2 separate regions of the Homo sapiens genome follow, and region 1 is linked to region 2. Evidence: promoter capture Hi-C in 16 types of primary human blood cells and fetal thymus (Javierre and others, 2016). All regions are on one chromosome and are shown on one strand. The core of a region is centred on a gene start or on the middle of the fragment in contact, and the rest is flanking DNA. Distances in the headings are between cores, read along the strand shown. Region 1 holds the start of CXCL17 (C-X-C motif chemokine ligand 17). Region 2 holds the start of CEACAM3 (CEA cell adhesion molecule 3).

Evidence for each region. Contacts are between HindIII fragments. The CHiCAGO score rates a contact against its expected background, and 5 or more counts as called.
Region 1: a contact is called between the fragment with the promoter of CXCL17 here and the fragment with the promoter of CEACAM3 in region 2, in 2 of 17 cell types (total B cells and total CD8 T cells). The highest score is 5.8, in total B cells.

What each region holds. Positions count from the first base shown.
Region 1 is chr19:42,438,199-42,444,928 of GRCh38, reverse strand. It overlaps CXCL17 (C-X-C motif chemokine ligand 17), which reads left to right and starts at 1,983. Exons shown (of 4, transcript NM_198477.3): 1 at 1,983-2,175. The coding sequence starts at 2,097. All of the region lies in intron 1 of LIPE-AS1 (LIPE antisense RNA 1), which reads right to left. RefSeq lists silencers at 4,465-4,554, 6,233-6,412. The HindIII fragment of the contact is 2,256 bases long and covers 774-3,029 here.
Region 2 is chr19:41,793,993-41,801,277 of GRCh38, reverse strand. It overlaps CEACAM3 (CEA cell adhesion molecule 3), which reads right to left and starts at 4,691. Exons shown (of 7, transcript NM_001815.5): 1 at 4,537-4,691; 2 at 3,330-3,689. The coding sequence starts at 4,600. The HindIII fragment of the contact is 3,675 bases long and covers 1,888-5,562 here.

The DNA.
Region 1 (6,730 bases), core at 734-3,233, 650 kb before region 2:
TGAGATGCATCATAAGAAGTTGTGATGTTAACAAGAAAAAAGTCCATTTGTCTTGGGGGTGTTTTATATTAATAGACCTAACAGACCGGAAGCCCCCTCCAATGGGACACAGGATGCAACACCCACCCCAAGTGCATGGAGGGGAAACCAGAGGGAGCAGGACCTGGAAGAACAGAGGGGTAAAGAGACTGAGGCACGGGAGGTAGGTCTGAGGAGGAGCTCCCGGCCCCTGCGGTGGCCTGGGTGTGGACTGATGCAGAACTCAGCAGCATAAGTAAAGTGGCCGCACCAGGCTCCATTTGTACATGGGATGGTTTTTCAGTAAGATTTTCTTTCTGCTAATGGGCTACATTTTCGCACACTTTCTAATACATCAGGCCCAGTTAATGGGCTACAAAACAATCATTCCATTCAACAGTCATTTATAGAATACTCCCAAAGTGCCAGACCCTGTGTAAGTTCAAGCAATACAAAAATGAACACGAACAGCTCCTGTCCTCTAAAATCCCCATCCAATGAGCTCCAGGAGGCACCTCTCCTACAACACGCCCCTGCTCTGCACGGCCCTCCTCTCTGCCCTCCACCAACCCAAATCCTCCCCCAACTCCAGCTCAAGTTCCACCCAACCAAGTCCCTCTCAGTCCCCCTGCACTCCTGCCACTTTGAGAGATGACTGCACCCATATCTCTAGGCTTTATGAAATGGATGTCATCTCCCTGGTTTTAGAATTTTCCAGAAAGAAGCCACATCAGTGATTTGCATCAGAACAAGCTTAGGCCCACCCTGAGCCTTCAACTTGGACACAGGCTCAGTCATAGCAGTCCCTGGCCCCTGCAGTGCTTTATAAACACTGCAGTAGCAAAGTCCACAATCAACTCTGTGACAAGTCAACAGGCCGAGATAATTTGAAAACGTGGAGAAAAAAGAATGGTCAAACAAAACCAAAGGGCTTTGACTCATGCCTTTCCTCTTTCCTTCTCTCAGGGAAATAAAGTCACACCCCCTGCTCTCACTCCTGCCTGGAGGCTTCCAAAAAAAGGGCTCCCTTGTTAGCCTTCCCTTCAGCCCCCATGAATATCACCCAGCATTCAAGCCCAGCCTCTCCTCTCCCTTTGAGCACATTTCCTAAAGTCTCAAATAAATGTCAAGTTTAGTGAGTGCTGATATTCTATGCCCCTAATGTTTACTTCAAGTATTATTACCTTTCTTCTTTTGCCCGGGGCCATTTCCAAACAAGGGCTGGAGCCAGGCGCCCCAGCAGCTGGGCAAACACACTTCAGGGCTCCTTCCCTCCTGTGGCTCCTGTTTCTCAAACCCTCTGAGACCTAAAGCTCTGGGGGTCTCTTCCCCCAACCCAGTTCCCTCCCCTTTAGACCAGAACAACTAAGCCATGGCCACCTTCCCGATGGACACACAAGGAGGCCTGGTGTCACCCACTGCTCCAGGGGCGGTGTTCTCGGCAGGGGAGCTGCCTCTTGTCCCGGATCCTGCTCTGCTGCCATCTTATGTGGCTGCAGAATTGGAGGGAATTGTGAACAGAGAGAGGACAGGGCAACTTCCCAGGCAACAACACTACTATTGCCGATATTTTGCCAAGGATGGGAGCAGGAGCACAGAGGGGAAACAGACCTTGTCAAAGTCTCTTCTACCAACACTTAGTATCCACTTTCCTGCCAAATATTCAGATAGAGAGGGTCATTGAAAGGTATAAGGAAATCCAAGCAAGAAAAAAAGATTTGAGGAAGAAATCATGAGGCATTGGGGTGTGAGGAGGCGGGAAAGAGTACAGGAGAGAACTGGCACAGCTGCCAAGTTATCAGTCACCTTCTTATGTTCTTAAGAATGCTGAATTTCTTTTGTTTGACCAGTTTCACCTCCCAGATTCCCATAAAGCACATGGTCTAATCTGTTACGTAACAGCAAGACAGCGTCACCTCACCTGTTCTCGCCCTCAAATGGGAACGCTGGCCTGGGACTAAAGCATAGACCACCAGGCTGAGTATCCTGACCTGAGTCATCCCCAGGGATCAGGAGCCTCCAGCAGGGAACCTTCCATTATATTCTTCAAGCAACTTACAGCTGCACCGACAGTTGCGATGAAAGTTCTAATCTCTTCCCTCCTCCTGTTGCTGCCACTAATGCTGATGTCCATGGTCTCTAGCAGCCTGAATCCAGGTAAACAAGACTGTCTATGAAGGGGAAAACGGGGGGAGAAATGTGGCAAAACAGGCCACAGACACATCAAAATGCAGCTTCTCTTAGCTATGGGGGATGGGGCAAGTGAGCCTTTCTCAATGCCAGTTTCCTCCTTTACAAAAAAACAGCAAACTGTACTTACACCCAAACAATGTTGAGAGAGTTAAACGAGATATTGTATGTGAAAATATCTGCAACTGGCCGGGCGCGGTGGCTCACTCCTGTAATCCCAGCACTTTGGGAGGCCAAGGCAGGGCGGATTACAAGGTCAGGAGATCGAGACCATCCTGGCTAACACGGTGAAACTCCATCTCTACTAAAAATACAAAAAATTAGCCAGACCTGGTGGCACGCACCTGTAGTCCCAGCTACTCAGGAGGCTGAGGCCAGAGAATTGCTGGAACCCAGGAGGTGGAGGCTGCAGTGAGCCGAGACGGCACCACTGTACTCCAGCCTGGGTGACAGAGTGAGACTCCATCTCAAAAAAAAAAAAAAAAAAAAAAGGAAAGAAAAGAAAAGAAGATATCTGCAATTGTAGCTGATCCCCCTCACACACACGTACGTATGTATGTATATACTAGCTCAACAAAGATTTGCTCCCATGCCTTCTCCCCCAACACTTTTCCAAAAGAGTAACATAATTCTCATGGCTAAACTTAATGATGATGGTGGGAGAGTGTTGAAGGCAATGGTACCTTTATAGAAGATCAGGAAGTCCTTGCTTCTATTCTTTACAGTGCACTGGAATGCCACCAACATGTCTTAATGCTATTTACTGGTAACGTAATAAACTAGAAAAAGCCTGTCACCAGGTAGTGTCCATATTTGAAGCTTTATCCATAGCAAGCCCTGCTGTAACAGCTCACATTTTGGGAAGCCGACTTTAGCTTAGGGGTTCCAAATCTGCTCCAGCTTTCACTATAAAGTGGCCCAGCCCTGCACAGAGCAACCACGCAGAAAAGACCTGATCCCCATGTATATTTCCGCTTGTGAGCACCATCTCCCCAAAGGCCACTTTGAGGTGAAATGGCTATGTTACATACTCAGCATCAACTTGGTCCTAAAATCAGGAGGCATTCTCCCTTCTCCACCCCAATTTCCAACATCCCCTCCTTTGTAGAGAGAGTGCTCTGGAAGCTGTTAAGCCCCATAGCCCTAGGGCCTAGACCACTGTTCTGAAAGGGAAGACTTTTCCATCACTATGACAGACACCCAGGCTAGAGTCCTCTGCCTGGATTCAAAGCTGTAGCCCCAACCTGCCTTTCTAGTGTACCTCCCTCTACTCACTAAAAATACTATTTCTCCAACCAAACTAACCTGTTTGCCCTTCCCTGAACAGGTATTGTGTTTTTCCACCAGTTCAACTTTGCTCACACACCCAGCTCAAAACCACCTTCCCACAGCTTCCTTCAGTTCCTCCCACAGCCAGACATGTGGTCTCCCTCCTGAGCGCTGGCTTAGCCCTGCTGGACACTCTCTTCTTGCACTTATCATCTGCTGCCTTATATTGAGGGCCTTCATGTGCCTTTCCTGCCCCCACCCCCTGTCCTTCTAGGCTGCAAACTACTTGGTGACACAGACTGGTGCACTGTTTCCATATCCCTCACGCTATCCAGCTCAGTACTCAGCAAACATTAGCTAACTGCAAGAATGCATCCTCAGGTTGCTAAATCAAACCAGGGCTTCATAGCAGCTCTACTGACATTTGGGCTGAACAGTTCCTTGCGGTGGGGGCTGTTCTGTGTATTGTGAGATGTTCAGCAGCATCCGCGTGGCCTCTCTCCCCTACATGCCAATAGCAGCCTCCCCTCTCCCTCATCCAAACCCCTGTTATGGCAGCCAAAAATATCTCTAGACATCGCCAAATGACCCCGGAGGGGGAACCACCCTTGGTCAACAACCACTGCTCTACACCAATACTTCTCTGCATGGCCACACTTTTAGACTCACCTAGACCTTTACACTCAGCTTGGAAGTCAGGGGGACCTAGATCCTGGCTCTGCCACACACTTTGCAACCCTAGACAAGTCGCCTCACTTTTTTGAGTTTCAGTTTTATCATCTTAAAATGAAGAAAATACCACTTGTCACACACACTTGTGAAGATTAAATGATCCGCAGCGTGTCCTAGAAAGGGTTTAATAAATGGACTGAGTAGTTTCTAAGTCGCTCCTAAAGCACGAGGGTGAGGAACTGGGGAAAGCTCCCTGCGCCACCAGGGGGCGCCATCACAAACCACGTCGAGTGGGTGGCGGCCGGGCTCAAATCTTGTTTCCCAGCCAAGCAAAGTTTTGCAGTGCAGGCCTGAGTCTGAGCTACTTAGTGGCTAAAGGAAATAATAGCTCCTCCATCCCCAAAATAAATCTCAGAATAAAGTCTAATCTTATTTTATCTCTTAATCACATACATGCTCAATATGCTTTTCACAGGGTTAAGGGAAATAGAAATAAGTGAGAATATATGAGGTCATTAGGAAATAAATTACTTAAAATAACAGATTATTCATTAATTATAATATTATTTAATTATAAAATTACTTATAATATCAGACACATTAAGAACTCCTATATCACAAGCATTGTTCTAATCACTTCACACTTACTATCTCATTTGTCCTCACAAATCTAATGCATTTCTTACTTTTTCTTACTTTTCATTTTTCAGACTTTGAAAAATATTGTAAAAATAGAGTTCCAGTACAGCCTTCATCCAATTGTTTTCAAACAATATCTTATGTAACCATAATACAATTATCAAAACCAGGAGATTAGCACTGATACCATAATATTAACTAATCTACAAATGTTCAAATCTTGCTAATCATCCCACTCATGTCCTTTTTCTGCTCCAGACTCCAATCTGGGATCCCACTGAATAAAATGTCAGATCTCCTAGGTCTCCTCCAACCTGGGATAGTTTCTCAGTCTTTCCCTCTCTTTCAGGACCTTGACACTTTTGAAGAGTTCTAGCCAGTTGTTTTGTAGAATGCCCCCTGAATATGGGTTTGTCTGATATTTCCGGCTACACATTTTGGGCAAGAATACTTCAGAAGTGATGTATCCTTCTCTGGACATCCCAGCAAGAGCCCCAGGATGTCGATATCTCTCATTACTGATGAGGTTCACTTTAAGCACTTGGTTCAGGTGGTGTCTGCCAGGTTTCTCTACTGTAAAGTTACTATTCATCTTATTGTAATTAATAAGTATCTTGTGGAGAGACACTTTGGAAATATGTAAATAGCCTGTTTCTTCTCATCATACTTTTTTTTTTCTTGTTATTCACCAGTTATGGCATCATCATACTTTTAATATTAACTTTTAGAATCTATGGATGATTGTTTCCTATAAAGAATTATTACTGTGGTGTTGGCCAAATAGTGATTTTCTACTTCCATTGTTCCTTCTACATTTATTTAATCGGAATTCTGCCATAAGAAAGAGTTATTCCTTTTTCTTTTTCTTTTTTTTTTTTTTTTTTTTTGAGATAGAGTCTTGCTCTGTTGCCTAGGCTGGAGTGCAGTGGTGTGATCTTGGCTCACTGCCGCCTCCACCTTCTGGGCTCAAGCGATCCTCCCACCTCAGCCTCCTGAGTAGCTGGGACTACAGGCAGACACCACCACACCCAGCTAATTTTTGTATTTTTAGTAGAGACGGGGTTTTGTCATGTTAGCCAGGCTGGTCTCTAATTCCTGGCCTCAAGTGATCCCCCCACTTTGGCCTCCCAAAGTGCTGGGATTACAGGCGTGAGCCACCATGCCTAGCCTCTTCCTTATTTATTTATTTGTTCAGTTATTTATTTATATCAGCATGGACTCATGAGTATTTATGGGTTGGAATCCACTACTATCATTATTTATTATGTTGCTCATATTGTCCCAAAATTGGCCATTGGGAGCTCCTTCTAGTTGGCTTCTGTGACCTTTAGACACATCTCCACCATTTTTTGAGCAGCTCCTTACTTTCTGACACCACAAGAAGCTTTGGGCTCCTCTTGTGTTTTTCTGCCCCAGCCCTGGATCAGCTATTTTTCCTGGAAGCCCTAGTTCCTTTCATGGGAGAATGATATTTACAGACTATGGGCACTGACTGATAGGTCCATTGCTAGTAGGTGCTGGTGCTTCTAGGCCCTCTAGTGGTCAGAGCTGGGAAATAACACACACGCACACTCATGTACAGTAGTCCCCACTTAATCGCAGTTTCAGTTACCCGCCAACAGTGGTCCAAAAATATTGTTATCTTGAGAAAGAGACAAAGAGAGAGAGAGACCACATTCACGTCATTTTCATTACAGTATATATGTGTGTGTGTGTGTGTGTGTGTGTGTATTTTATATATATATATATATATATATATTTTTTTTTTTTTTTTTTTTTTTTTTTTGAGACAGAGTCTCTTGTCGCCCAGGCTGGAGTGCAGTGGTGCAATCTCGGCTCACTGCAAGCTCTGCCTCCTGGGTTCACACCATTCTCCTGCCTCAGCCTCCCGAGTAGCTGGGACTAAAGGCGTGCGCCACCACACCTGGCTAATTTTTTGTAT
Region 2 (7,285 bases), core at 3,442-5,941:
CTGATTTCTGTGCCTTTTTTTATTGCCCCGGAGGTGGGCCAGGCCACAGTGTGAGTGGGAAGGGAACAGAACAGCCAGTCTTGTTAGAGGGAGTTCCTGGGGAAGACCTAAGGGTGGAGGAAGCTGTGCAGGGCAGGGGCATCCTCACTGGTGTGAAAGGGGAGGAAGATAAGGGACAAGGGGTAGCAGAGATAGCCAGAGATTACATCACAGTGAGCTGTGGGGACTACAGTGACCTCAGAGACCCTAGGGACCAGGAGACCCCTGGTTATTCTAGAACCAGTGTAGGGACCAGCCCCACAGGGTCGGTGGGTCTCTCCCCATGTGCGGAGACGAGAGAGTGTAGAAATGAAGACACAAGATAAAGAGATAAAAGAACAGACAGCTGGGCCCCGGGGGGATCACTACCACCAATGCGCGGAGACTGGTAGTGGCCCCGAATGTCTGACTGCGCTGTTATTTATTGGATACAAAGCAAAAGGGGGAGGGTAAAGAGTGTGAGTCATCTCCAATGATAGGTAAGGTCACGTGGGTCATGTGTCCACTGGACAGGGGGCCCTTCCCTGCCTGGCAGATGAGGCAGAGAGAGAGAGGAGACAAAGAGAAAGACAGCTTATGCCATTATTTCTGCATATCAGAGACTTTTAGTACTTTCACTAATTTACTACTGCTATCTAGAAGGCAGAGCCAGGCGTACAGGATGGAACGTGAAGGCGGACTAGGAGCGTGACCACTGAAGCACAGCATCATAGGGAGACGGTTAGGCCTCCGGATAACTGCGAGTGGACCTGACTGGTGTCTGGCCCTCCACAAGAGGTGGAGGAGCAAAGTCTTCTCTAAACTCTCCCGGGGAAAGGGAGACTCCCTTTCCCGGTCTGCCAAGTAGCGGGTGTTTTCCCTTGACACTTACGCTACCGCTAGACCTCGGTCTGCCTGGCAACGGGCGTCTTCCCAGGCGCTAGTGTCACCGCTAGACCAAGGAGCCCTTCTGGTGGCCCTGTCTGGGCATAACAGAAGGCTCGCACTCTTGTCTTCTGGTCACTTCTCACTATGTCTCCCCAGCTCCTATCTCTGTATGGCCTGGCTTTTCCTAGGTTGTGATTATAGAGCGAGGATTATTATAATACTGGAATAAAGAGTAATTGCTACCAACTAATGATTAATGATATTCACATATAATCATATCTAAGATCTATATCTGGTATAACTTTTCTTGTTTTATATTTTATTATACTGGAACAGCTCGTGTCCTTGGTCTCTTGCCTCGGCGCCTGGGTGACCTGCCGCCCACAAACCAGGACCAGGGAGACCTGAAAACCTTCCCACAGGTGAGCTGTGCCAGAGTCCCATGAGATGCGGTTCTTGGGGTAGCTTTAGGGGCAGGGGTTAGAGGAATGCAACAAGGATCCCGGCCCCTGGAGGGACAGGAAACAGGTGTGGCCAGAACCTTATAGGATTCTGCATCCAAGATCCGGTCTCTGAAGAGTTTAAGAATTATTCATCATTCATTCCTTCCCTCCTTCGTCAGAGAACTACTGAGTGTGTGTCTCTCACTGGGCCCTGCGCTGGTGCAGGGTGTGAGTGGGGAGTGTTTTATCCTCCTGTGGGAGTGTCACTGACACATCAGGAAACACAGGATTTCAGGTCGAGTGAGGGCAGTGGTGCGCATCTGAGAGGGAGGCCCGGACATTCCTGGCACTGACTCTGTTGACACAAGGGATTTAGTTCTAGGTTAGGCTAATGTGTTAGGCTATTTTTTGTTACTATAAGGAAATGTCTGAGGCTGGGTAATTTATAAAGAAAAGAGATTTAATTGATGCAGGGATCTGCAGGCTATACAGGCATGGCACCAGCGTCTGCTCGGCTTCTGGTGAGACCCAGCAAGCTTACAATCATGGTGGAAGGAGAAGGGGGAGCAGGTGGTGTCATGTGGCAAAAGCAGGAGCAAGAGAGAGTGTGGAGGCGCCACACACTTTTAAAGAACCAGATCTCCTGTGCACTCAAAGTGAGAACTGACTTGTCACCAAGGGGATGGTGCTGAGCCACTCATGAGAAACAGCCCCCCATGATCCAATCGCCTCCCACCAGGCCTCACCTCCAATGTTGGGGATCACATTTCAACATGAGATTTGGAGAGGATAAACATCCAAACTATATCAGGAAAAATTGATTAATTTTCCATTTGCCCCTTACTCTCCAGACCAAAATCTCCCCCTCTGAGATGTGGATGCCCAAGAAAAAGGAAAGAGAACTTAGGACTGGTCTCAGGCCTGCAGATGTCTAATAATAACGCCAGCCGTCCCCTGGTGGAGAAGAGGCAGCTGTGGCTGCAGAGAGACCTCGTGTGACTCTAATCTGACACCTTTGACTTGTGTGACCCTAGTCGGTGACTGTCTCCCTGTTCCTCAATTTTTTTTTTCAATAAGTAGGATAAGTGCTATTTGGCTGTGACGTTGTTTGTGAATTAATCTCAAAATATTTACAATTACTTGACCTCAGCTGTGTATAGAGGAGCTGCCCAAAGGAACAGCATCTATGCTTATTTGCCTCCAAAAGAGAGGTCCCTGAGTCTGATCCCTTGTGGAAAAGGAGCTGCTGGGAGCATCTTCTCTCTTCTTTTTCCTCCCCCTGGGGATACTGAACTTCCCATGGAGTCATCTAAGTTCCCCTGGGCAGTGGGCTCATGCCCTAGTAATCTTGTCCATCTGTTCACTCCATGCTGAGTCTCAGGTAAAGGATGAGGCCCTGTCCTTGCCCAGGAGAGGTTCTTGGGGCTGGACCCTGGCTGGTGACCAACTCCAGGAGCCACGACCCTCAGACAGCTGGTAAATTCTTGCTCCCAGTCAGCCCTGCCCAGGAGGCCTCACTCAGCCCTGGCACAGGATCCCTAGGGTCCCCAGGGTCACCTGGAGTCAGGAATCTGGGACAGGGATTTGCACAGGGGCTCAGTTCTGGGAAGAGTTGAGCTTCTCTCTGAGAATCCTAGGGGGACCCCTCAGGCCAGGCCCTGATCCAGTTCTCCAGGGTCTTTCTTAGGGTCAGGTCCATGGGGAGACCATGGGGTTCTTTTCTGACACTGACCTTGCCCTGCTGAGTCCCCCCATCAGACTGTCCTTCCTCTGCAGCGAGTGTCTGCAGGGTCTGGATGCAGGAAAGGAATTCTGATCTGTGGAAGTTTGTCTCCCCCGTGTGTGTCCTGCACTAAATGTCCAAACCCTGATACAGAATGTAATGCAGAGAGGGCCACAGGCACAGCCCAGGCCTGACAATCCCATATGTGGGAAGTAGAACTGACCCCCAACACCCAGAGGTCATGTGGAAATACTCACGGTATACATGGAACTGTCCAGTTGCTTCTTCATTCACAAGATCTGACTTTATGACTTGTAGGGTGTAGAATCCTATGTCATTCTGGGTGACATTCTGGATCAGCAGGGATGCATTGGTGTATATTGTCTCTCGACCGCTGTATGCGGCCCCTGGGGTAGCTTGTTGAGTTCCTATTACATATCCTACAATTAGACTGTTGCCATCCACTCTTTCCCCTTTGTACCAGCTGTAGCCAAAAAGATGCTGGGGCAGATTGTGGACAAGTAGAAGCACCTCCTTCCCCTCTGCGACACTGAGCGGCATGGATTCAATAGTGAGCTTGGCAGTGGTGGGCGGGTTCCAGAAGTTTAGAAGTGAGGCTAGGAGGGAGAAAGCATCAGTCAATATTGGGACCCATGTATTGGGATGGAAAGATGGGGCCCTGGGTCCTGAGAGAGTCTCTTCACCCTTCAGCCTTGGAGAGTGTATGTGTGTCCCACTTGGTCAAGGTCAGTAACGTGACCTTTCTTTCTTCAGCACCTCTAACCTTGGCATTTTCCTGTGTGGAATCCCCTTCCCCAGGGGTCTGCATGGCTCCCTCCCCACTGCCCTCAGATCCTGCTCACATCAGGGCATCCTTGGGAGATCCCTCCCCTGACACCTCCTCTAGAGACCCTGGGTCTTCCCTTTCTGACCTTTTTCTGCTCTGTTCCCTCCAGGGCTCTTGTCAACACCTGAACTCACATTCTAGATCTCTTTGGGTGTCTATCTTCATCTCTGCAAGAGTGTAAGCTCTTTGAACACAGAGACTTGTCTGATATTTGTTGTACGCCAGTGCCTAAAATTTGATTGCAAATACTGGTGGATGAGTTAAGGAGTGGTGGTTATTTTGCAACTTGTGGTTGGTGGTCAAAGACAGGTTTTAGTGCCCTGGTTATATTTTTATTTAAAGTATCACCCTGATGTAATTCTTATTCTTATCATTTTCTAATTGTAGTGGCCAGTAATGATTAACTTGGAAAACATGATCAATGGATTTTCCTCCCTCTTATCAATCCCAGTTCAATGTGATTGTCTTGTTGTGACCCGTGTCCCTCTCTGATGTTCTCTCCCCTGAGGCTTCAGCAGAAGCCTTCTGTCCCCTATCAGAGCCCCATCCTCCCCAGGAGACCCCAGCCATTCTCTGTGATCCCTCCTCTTGCCCACTCCCAGGAATCCTCCACTCACCTGTGAGCAGAAGCCCCTGCCAGGGGATGCATTCTCTGTGGGGAGAGGCTGAGGGGGGCCCCATGGTCTCTGCTGCCTGCTCTTTCCTCCTCTGTGGAAAAGAGCCTGGGCTCCAGGAATGCTGTAGTCAGGGCTACTGTGACTTAGGCTCTGCTGTCCTTCCTCTTTCCATGCTGAGCCTCCTCCCAGGGCAGGAGCACTTTCCAGGGTCATGGGTGAAGCTCTGCCCAGGTCACCTCTCTGTCCCCTCCCCTCTCAGTTTTGCCTCATTTTCTCTTCTTCCTTTCTCCCTTCTGTCTACATTTGAGTTCCCCAGACCAGGCTCTGAGAAGCAAGGCTTACTTGGATCCCTGTTTCATAACAGGATGACCCTCCCTCCCCAGCGTGGACCTCTGCTCTGCCTTGGCCTTGGGTCTGTCAGCACCATGCAGAGTCCCTGGGGTCCCTGAACCTGGTGTTATTTTCTCTGTGACGGAGAAACTCCTTTGTGTGTGCAGGGTCTTCTTACTGTTCTCACATGTCTGGGAAGGTTGGATTTACTCCCAGCAAGGAGGTCACAGAGATGTCTGGGGTCCTACAAATGGATATATCTAGGGCTAAAGCCCGGATCTAAGATTCTGAGCTGTTCTTTCTGCAGCATTATGTGACTCTAATTTCCTGGGAGTAACTGAGAATGAGGCTTCACAGTGCTGTAGCTTTATGTCATCCAGACACCAGACATTTCTAGGCTGACTTTATGATTTTCTCTCTAGCTTGTACCACCTTTATTATTATATATTTCATCCTTTTTTCTAAATAAATTTAGTTTACAAAACATCCTGTCCTAGCAGGGATCGGTGGCTCAGATCTGTGATCCCAGCTACTCGAGAGGCTATGGTGGGAGGATGGCTTGAGGCCAGGAGTTGGAGACAAAACATCCTTGTCTTATGCAATATTGTCCATGAAATTACAGATTTGATGTGTGCTTAAATGTTTTCTCAATGTATATTAAAATAAACGCATAAGTATTAAAGTTTTTAAAAAGCTTACTTACGTTTCGCCTAAAATCAGTTTTTGGAAATGCTGACACAGTGGCATAAACATGAACTTTATGTCCAGATGTACCTGGGGACAGCTAATGGTTCTGTCACTTAACTATGTTGACTTGGACAAGTCACGTGGCTTCTATGATCCTTGATTCCCTGATTTGTAAAAGGAGGATGGTAAAATCCTCCTTGCAGAGTTGTTGGGAATAAGTGAGCTGCTGTGGGAGCCCCGTGCCCAGGCGGGTGTTGAGTACATGGTGGTTGTCATCGTGGTTATTGCTGTGGAATTCTGGTTTTCAAAGAGTGTCTACGCCGGAATATTGGGCTTGTGGCTTTCTGCTGATGTGGATGTGTGAAAAAGCTACTTTTGCTTGTTAGAACTTGTGGTGCATCTGTCATTATTTTCATTTCCCAGTTCCACTACCTATTTTCTCTGTGATGTTGGTCAAGTTGCCTAACTTTTCTGTGCCTCATTTACCTAATTTGTGAAATGTGGGTAACAGTACACTAGTGTGGGTGTGTTATTTCCCAGCTCTGACCACTAGAGGGCATAGAAGCACCGGCACCTACTAGCAATGGGCATATGGGCGCCCATGGTCTGTAAACATCATTCTCCCATGAAAGGAACCAGGGTTCCCTGGAGAAATGGCTGATTCCAGGGCTGGGGCAGGAAACCACAAGAGGAGACTGGAGCATCTTGCGGGGCCTGAGAGTAAGGCACAACTTGAAAAATGATGGGGATGTGTGGAAAGTATCACAAATGCCAACTAGAAGAAGCTCCCAATGGCCAATTTGGGGACAATATAGCAACATAATCAATAATAATAGTAATGTAGTCCAACCGATAAATACTTGAGAGTCCATGCTGATATATATATAAATAAGTGAATACATAAATAAATGAGAAAGAAGAACTAGCTCTTTCTTACAGCAGCGTTCCAGTTAATCAGTGTAGAAGCAATGATGGAAGCAGAAAATCACTGGCTAACACCACAGTAAGAATTGTTTATCGGCTACAATTATCTCTGGATTCTAGAAATTAATTGGTAAAAGTATGCTAAGAACAAACTGGCTATTTGCATATTTCCAAAGTACCTGTCCACAAGATACTTATTAATTACAATGAGATGAATAGTAACTTCACAGTAGAGAAACCTGGCAGACACCACCTGAACCAAGCGCTTAAAGTGAACCTCATCGGTAATGAGAGATATAGACATCCTGGGGCTCCGGCTGGGATGTCCTGAGAAAGACACATCGCTTCTGTGCTAATCTTGCCCAAAATGCATAACCTGAAACATCCCAAGGAAACATGAGACAAACCCAAATTGAGGGGCATTCTACAAAACAACTGACCAGACCTCCTCAAAAGCATCAAGGTCCTGAGAGAGGGAAAGAGTGGGAAACTCCCCCAGGTTGGAGGAGGCCTAGGAAATGTGACAGTGTTATTCAGTGTGGGATCCTGGGTTGGACTCTGGAGCAGAAAAAAGACATGACTGGGATGATTAGCAAAATTTTAATATTTCTTTTTTTTTTTTTTGGAGACAGAGTCTCACTCTGTCGCCAAGGCTGGAGTGCAGTGGCTCGATCTGGGCTCACTGCAACCCCCACCTCCTGAGTTCAAGAGATTCTCCTGCTTCAGCCTCCCGAGTAGCTGGGATTACAGGTACCTGCCACCACGCCTGGCTAATTTTTGTATTTTTAGTAGAGACGGGGTTTCATCG